2 separate regions of the Homo sapiens genome follow, and region 2 is linked to region 1. The links are contacts of gene promoters, found by promoter capture Hi-C in blood cells and fetal thymus (Javierre and others, 2016). All regions are on one chromosome and are shown on one strand. The core of a region is centred on a gene start or on the middle of the fragment in contact, and the rest is flanking DNA. Distances in the headings are between cores, read along the strand shown.

What was found. The method cuts DNA at HindIII sites, captures the fragments that hold promoters and counts their contacts. A CHiCAGO score of 5 or more calls a contact.
Region 2: a fragment that was not itself captured here is called in contact with the fragment with the promoter of PDE4D-AS1 in region 1 in 2 of 17 cell types (fetal thymus and naive CD4 T cells); the score reaches 7.3 in fetal thymus.

The regions. Positions count from the first base shown.
Region 1 is chr5:59,038,142-59,041,876 of GRCh38, forward strand. It overlaps PDE4D-AS1 (PDE4D antisense RNA 1), which reads left to right and starts at 1,625. Exons shown (of 2, transcript NR_198970.1): 1 at 1,625-1,929. It overlaps PDE4D (phosphodiesterase 4D), which reads right to left. Exons shown (of 15, transcript NM_001104631.2): 6 at 718-830. RefSeq lists a silencer at 994-1,063. The HindIII fragment of the contact is 4,461 bases long and covers 1-3,000 here.
Region 2 is chr5:59,335,101-59,338,327 of GRCh38, forward strand. The region is part of intron 1 of PDE4D (phosphodiesterase 4D); the gene reads right to left. Among named protein-coding and RNA genes, the nearest start is that of PDE4D-AS1, 300 kb to the left of the region's middle. The HindIII fragment of the contact is 1,048 bases long and covers 1,075-2,122 here.

The sequences.
Region 1 (3,735 bases), core at 375-2,874:
CTTCCGTGCTATTTTAAGGCTGTCCCAGGCTGAAGGTTACTTCTCAGCCCTCAAAACTCCATTAACTGCCAAGACCAGCACCTTAGCACATATGGCACAGATGCCTAGTTGAAGCCTCCTTGTACTAAATGACCTCAAAAAACTGGGCTTTCTTTCCAAGATTAATGGAAACAAAAGTAATGATCATAAGGAACCTTCTAACTCTGTTAATGTTTCCTGCGGATATGTATGGCCAACTGAATATATAAAGGCTCAGTTCTTGCGGGGTACCCTGACAACTAGATGAATTAGGGTGAAGGTTCCAAGTTCGATGAACTCTTCTGAGTTTGAGTGCCCTAGGTGGTGACATTCAAGTGATTTCACAGACATCCACCAATTCTTATTTTCAACCGGGAATCCCAAGAACACCTTTAAACATGCAATGCCCATGGACCCTACTGGGTTTCTGCTGCAAGGGCTCAGTGTTACTTAGGAACCCTGTGTCTTGGGAGATACTTAAATTTAGCACGTCAAATTGCTTTTGGAAAATGTTTATCTGGCGTGACTAGGGGAGGCAAAGCAAGGAAACAGGAACCTCCCTCTAAGGAGCAGAATAGCCAACATGCAGTAAGCCTAAAAAACCTCTCAATTTATTTCCCGGGGCTATGGGTACCAGTGGCTCGCCGGCATGGGAATCAGCAGCCTGGGGGCACCAGTGACAGCAGAACCGGGGCTTACCTTGTTGGAGGCCATCTCACTGACGGAGTGCCTGGTCTGTAGGGTCTCTAGCTGGTCCAGACACCAGTCCAGCTCCTCCAGGGTCTCGCTGGCCAGTTTCTGGTAGGCCTCCTCTGCGAAGAGACAGGGAAAGGGGGACTCAGTTCTCAAGCGCTTCACGGGTCCGCTAGCGAGTTCAAAGGGGGCCATCCTGCCATACCCCGCCATGCTCGGATGCCCGGTGCCGGCACATGAGGGCTGCTCCTTCATATTGCCCAGCCCGGCAGTGCAACGGGGGCGGAGGCTGTGCTCGCGGGGCGGCCGGCCTCGGGGAGGCACGGTCTCTCCAGCTTGGCGTCTCGGGTCGGCCTCCAGGGAGGGCGTGCAAAGAGCGGCGAGCCAACTTTCACACAGCGACGCGAGCGGAAAAACCACTATGCGACTTTTCAACTGTGCGGCGGGCCCGAGTCCCAGTCCAGGAGCCCGGCTCTAGCGGATGGCGAGGGGGTGGCGAGCGCGCTTGGGTGCCCGCCCCGCAGAGGAGCGTCTGGTCCACAGCCGGATCTCCTCGGTCCCCAACCCGGAGCCGCGGCCCCACGCCCGCCCCGCCTGCCGAGCCTTCTGCACGGCACTTGAAGTGAATGAATCAGCCGCGGCCGGGTGCGCGGCCACCACGTTTCCTGTTTTCTTTCTCAACTCCTCGGGCGGCAGGCGCAGCGCGGCTCCAACGCCGCAGCTTTCCGGGAACACTCCCCCTCACGCCCCTCTCGGCCCTCGGCGCTGCCTGGCTCCTCCTCAACCCCCTTACGAAAAGATTCCGAATTGCAAAAGCCTGTCCCTGTCCGTGCCACCCGCCGCGTCCTTCCCCTCGAGCTCTGCCCCGGGGGCCCCGCCACCTCGCAGTGCCATCCCCCCGGCGCAGCCGGGCGCCACTCGCTTTGAAGTGCAGACGAGGAGGCGCGGGCGCGAGCGTGTGTGTCTGTGGGGCTGCTGTGGGACTGTCTGTGCTAGGAGAGCGGCGGAAAACCCGGCGTGGAGCGCCTGCAGTCCGCCGTCCGGGGTCGCGCCCGCCGCGGGGCTCAGGAGGGACCGGCACGCAGGCGCGCACGGCCGCGCACCTGTCTCGCTAGAACCCCGCGCGCCCCGCCGAGCCACTGCCCTCCAGGTTGCCCAGACCGCTGGAGCCTCTGCGACTCCACGACCGGCTGCTTCCTGCGAAGTTTCACAAACAAGGTTATTTAGGACCCTCAAGGTTTCTGAGGGTTTAAGTTTTAGGGTTTCTGGGGGTTCGTTTCTAAAGGCTTAGGATTCACCTACTTCAAGGAGGCAGGGTTGTGGGAATTAAGACCGCATTCTTTTTCTACCCAGCCCAGTCCCTACTAAGTACCAGACTTCTAAATGTTGGGGCGGACAGAAACAAGCAAACAAAATATACAATGTTGTGGGGTCGGAACGCTTTATAATTCACAAATTTGACAATAGGCTGCATTTTCATATGCCGAATTGCCTAAGAGTTCTCTTAAAGGAACAGCAATGTGAAAGAACCACATGGTAAGGAGAATTTACGCATGTCCTGCATACTACTCCTTTCCCCTGTGAATTGCATAAGACCTAGATGATCTTGGGCCAAGGAAGAAAATCTGGAAGGGTGTTTCTACCCACCATGTGCAGAGTACACTACAATTTTGAGAAAACGGAAAGACCATATTCAAAGGCATACAGAAAAGCCTGTTCTGTTTACAAAGGCTGACCCAGGGCACCAGGGACACTGTCCCTAAGCAGATCAGTTGTGGGAGAACTTTTCTACATTAGCATGCAATAAGCAAACCATTCATAGTGAGGAGAAGTCAAACTCCCAAGGGTCCATTTGATAAAACTTTGTCATTGTCGAGTGGAAAGAAGATACTGAGAAACTTACACTAAGTGGTGGGATCCCTTGTCTTTGTCTTTGAATCTACAGGTATTGGAGAAGAAATTCTGCCCTTGAAATTTAGACTCCATAAATTAACATGGCACAACAAATAAAGTTCATGGACTGAATTTAGGCTCCTGGGATTTTTGAGATAGCTTTTTATGTGAACTTTGTAAAAGTTAGAGTAACTTTTAAAGTAGTTGTTACATGTGCCACGTGGCTTATTGTTATCAAGAATACTTGAACTATTTACTGTTCACTTTGAGTACTCTAGGTTAAAATTTGCCTCTTTTTTGTTCTACTTCCTCCACCCCGCAGTCTATGTAAATATATACTTTAGATGGACAAACAACTGCCTAAACCTTGCCAGGTGAATTAAAGTTTCAGATTGAAGCTTTTTTTTCCCCCTTAACAAGCTTAAAGATATTAATAATTTTAAATGGTAAATATAAAATACCTGCTCTGTATAGCTTCCCCAATTCTAAGAATGTAAAAAATATTACATGCTTGTTATAAAAATTGAAGCATTACACACAAATATAGGAAGTCCATTGTAACCCCACACCCTAAAGATCACAAACAATACTTTCGCCTATGGCTCTAACACAATCATTTTCATTTTACTGAATAACTTCCATATGCAAGTATAGCATCACCTAGTTGCCATGGTAGTGCATCTACTATATGGTTTGGTTTTGATATTTTCCTCTCTCTCTCATTCCCATAATATAGGAATGTAGGAAATTTTAAGAGGACATTGACTTGTTTTATGATCATTTGAGCTGTCCATAGTTAGCCTATCCAGTGGATTAAAGATGCATAACCATTGTGTCTGGGATTTGTTCAGTGCCATCTTTTCAATCATTGGTTACAATGAAGCTGGGAGTCCCCTCTGAGGTTCGGCTTTCTGTGGCTCCTCTCCCCTGCACTCCAACTTTCTCAAAGCCTGAGCCTCAAGTGATTTCCCAGTAGCTAAGTAAACTGCCCCCTTCCTCCATCTTCACCAAGTTCCCAAAGCTGTTCAGACTCAGGCTTCAAATCTAACAGGATGTGGCTCCACACATTATATTTCAGTTGTTATTTTTTAATGTGGAAAATAATTCAGGAAAGTTTTGGCTAATGCTTCA
Region 2 (3,227 bases), core at 349-2,848, 300 kb after region 1:
TAATCATGGGCTGATATGTTTAATGTTTTTCTTCGCTATTCCTTTGGAAGGCTCATGACAGCAGGAACCATGTCGGTATGTTTACCACTGTGACCTCAGAGCACAGTCCAGTCCTGGCATAGTATAGGTGCTCAATAAATACTAGTAGTGAAGATCTCAGATTGCTTTCCTGTGCCCAGAGCATGGGAACCAACTCCAAGAAGCAATAGCAATAGGAGACTTCTGACAGTAAAATCTCCATTTTGCAGAGGAAACAGCTATGAAGGCAGAAAGTGCCCATAACTCAGGAAAAGGGAGGATGGCAAAGAACTGCATCTATTTCACAGTCTTGCTCAGGGTCATGGCTGTGGTTATCAATCTTTGCCTCTAAAAATACATAGTTTTTGCCCCTATGGGTGGTCACTGCTTAGTCACTGCAATGGATTTGAACTACACAACCTACATTTATCACTTTTACCCATTTAAGACCAACTTAAAGGCAAAAAGAAGTAAAAGAATGATGAAGACTTTTTTTTTAAGATTCTGCAGTACCTTCATAAGTGTCTCCCTCTCAGGGATGAAGTAAGAATTGCTCCTTTAAAAAGTGTCTTTCTGTGAAAGGACCGGAAAATTCCTAAAGATAGAAACTAAAAAGCTAGATGGCAGCAGACTGCCTTTCATGTCCCTATCAATGAATAGATTGCTAACTAACAATCAGGGGCATTGTTCATATCAATAATATAAATAGTTCAAAAGACTCCAGAAATAAGTTCCTAAGGCACTCCCAGCCATTTGGAATAACTATGGCTTGGAAATTTTCCCATCTTTGTAATTTTGCAAAAAATGATCTAGACTAGAGGTCTATAACTATATTCAGATGATTCCTATTCATAAACTGAGAATAAAGAACAGACCAACTTCAGTAACAGTGACATTGCTGGGAGAATAAATTGGCTCAAGAAGTAACAACAGCAGCAAAACGGTTAAGGCACTTCAAGGTAATCAATTTAGCTCTATCGCTTTTTGCTGTGACTCTGAAGGAAGTTAATTGAATCTCTGAAAGTAGTATCTTGCTGCCTGGAATTGGTACCCACAAGCTTCAAATAAACTATTCCATGAAGTTTAAGCTGTCCTTGACAGAAAGAAGGGCACAATCAGCTCCAAGCCATTAGGGAAGGTATAATTTCACAAGGCAAGACAGCCAAGGAAAGTGATCCTCAAAGGGAAACTTTCGTAGAAAAAATTTTGTACTTTCCTGTCCCCATCCATCAGTAACCTCAACAGAGCTATTTTTGGATTGTTTCCCTTTATTCCTATTGATGACTATTATTATATTTTTGAAAATGTTTTTGTTAATGTTGTTAGAAACTGGTAGGTTAATGAAACTTTAGCCATGGTTGTTGTTGTTAGAAGCAGGTGTAATTAATAAAAGTTTAGCTGTGAAGGCCAGGCATCTCAGGGTTCAAACTTTAGCTTATTGACTACTTTTTAAGCTATGCAACCCTTAGCAAACTGCTTACTCACATGACCTCTGTTCTCACAGCTGCTAACAGAAGTGGTGGCAGTGATAATAATGTTGAGAATTGTTTTGAGGTATAACCAAATTACCATGGAAAATGCCTAGCAAAAGTCCAGGCTTATAGTATGAGCTAATTAATATATCAAAATCTCATTCCTTTCTTTTTTTGGCTTTCCTTTCTTCTACGGCCTTCTCCATCTTCCAAGACCCAGCCTTAGTAGCAGATGATGACTTGGGTCTCCTGCCTACCAAGAAGCCCAGTGCGCTGGCTTCCTGACACAAGACATAGCCCTGTTAGGGAGTCAGGAATCTATTTACTCAATGTTCAGTTCATATTAGAATGCAAATGCTCTTGCAAATAAAAAACATTAACTCATGTCTAATTGCTTATCTACACTTTCAGCACTTCTTCATTTTTTTAAAATTTTACTGTGAGCAGGCTCTAAAAAGAGAATATAGCAAGAACAAAGGTTTTGGCTTTGATGAGGAAAAGTGTGTGGAGAGAACACAAAAAGAGGAGAAGGATGAAGGAAGAAGACAGGAAGGTCTCAAAACCTGAGCTCCTGCAGCAGTCACTCCACTGAACTAGCCCATTCTGAGCTTGTCCAGTTCTTTTGTAAACCAAGCTTGCATGCTTCTTAAATTGTCAATGGTTAGCTTTTCATGGTTCTTAAAAAACTTAAATTTTTAATGATGCTGGTATAAGTGAAAGGCATTCATAAGTTCCCCCCCCCCCACCTTTTTTTTTTTTTTGACACGGAGTCTCGCTGTCGCCCAGGCTGGAGGGCAGTGGTGTGATCTCGGCTCACTGCAGGCTCCGTCCCCCGGGGTTCACGCCATTCTCCTGCGTCAGCCTAAGTTCCCCTTTTTAATAATGAAGGTCATAAATAGGAGCAGTCAACAGCTAACATTTTTGCAGTATTTACCATGCAGTAGACACTGTGCTGGGCACTGTACATGATTATCTCACTTAATCCCCACAAAGCCTTATGAGCTATTATTATTATTTCAATTTACAGATAAGGACACTAAACAGAGAGAGAATATACAGCTACCAAGTGGCAGAATCAGCTAATAGGCCATGTGTTGATATGTTCTGATTGCAGAGTTTGATGCCTCTCCTGGGTGAACTCAATAGGACCAGAACACAGTTCTACTAGAACATCTGGTATGATTTCACAATGTCACGTTGTTTTTGCCTTTGAAGTGAATTGGGGTATTCTGAATGGGCATGGGGACATTTTAAGAGGTCATGGGGCACGAGATTAAACCTACAAATGTCATGGGAGCCTCTCCATCTTGTGAACCCTCTTACTAACCACCTTCATTCCCATTTAGGCTTTTACAAAACACATGACTGTAAACTGATTTTCTTTGGTAGAAGAGAGGAATGTTGTGGAGAAAACACTTGAAAAAGTTCATAGGTTAAAAAAACACAAGAACTACTTGTTTCATACATGGTTTTATGTAAATGTCAAAGATAACCTCTCAAATATTCTTTAAGTTTCCACTAATATGTGATATCCCAAAAATGTTGCCTCCCGTGATAATATCTTGCATTCTTCTGTTATTCCATGAAGCATATCTTACTTGGTTCTCACAGCCAACAATCAACTGAGGTAATAAGGAAAGATAACCATAGCCCTGCTTTATAGAGGCAAAAGTGGGATCTCATGCTATATGGCACAGCAGAAACAGAATCTCAAACTAGTATTTAGGCCCCTAGTCC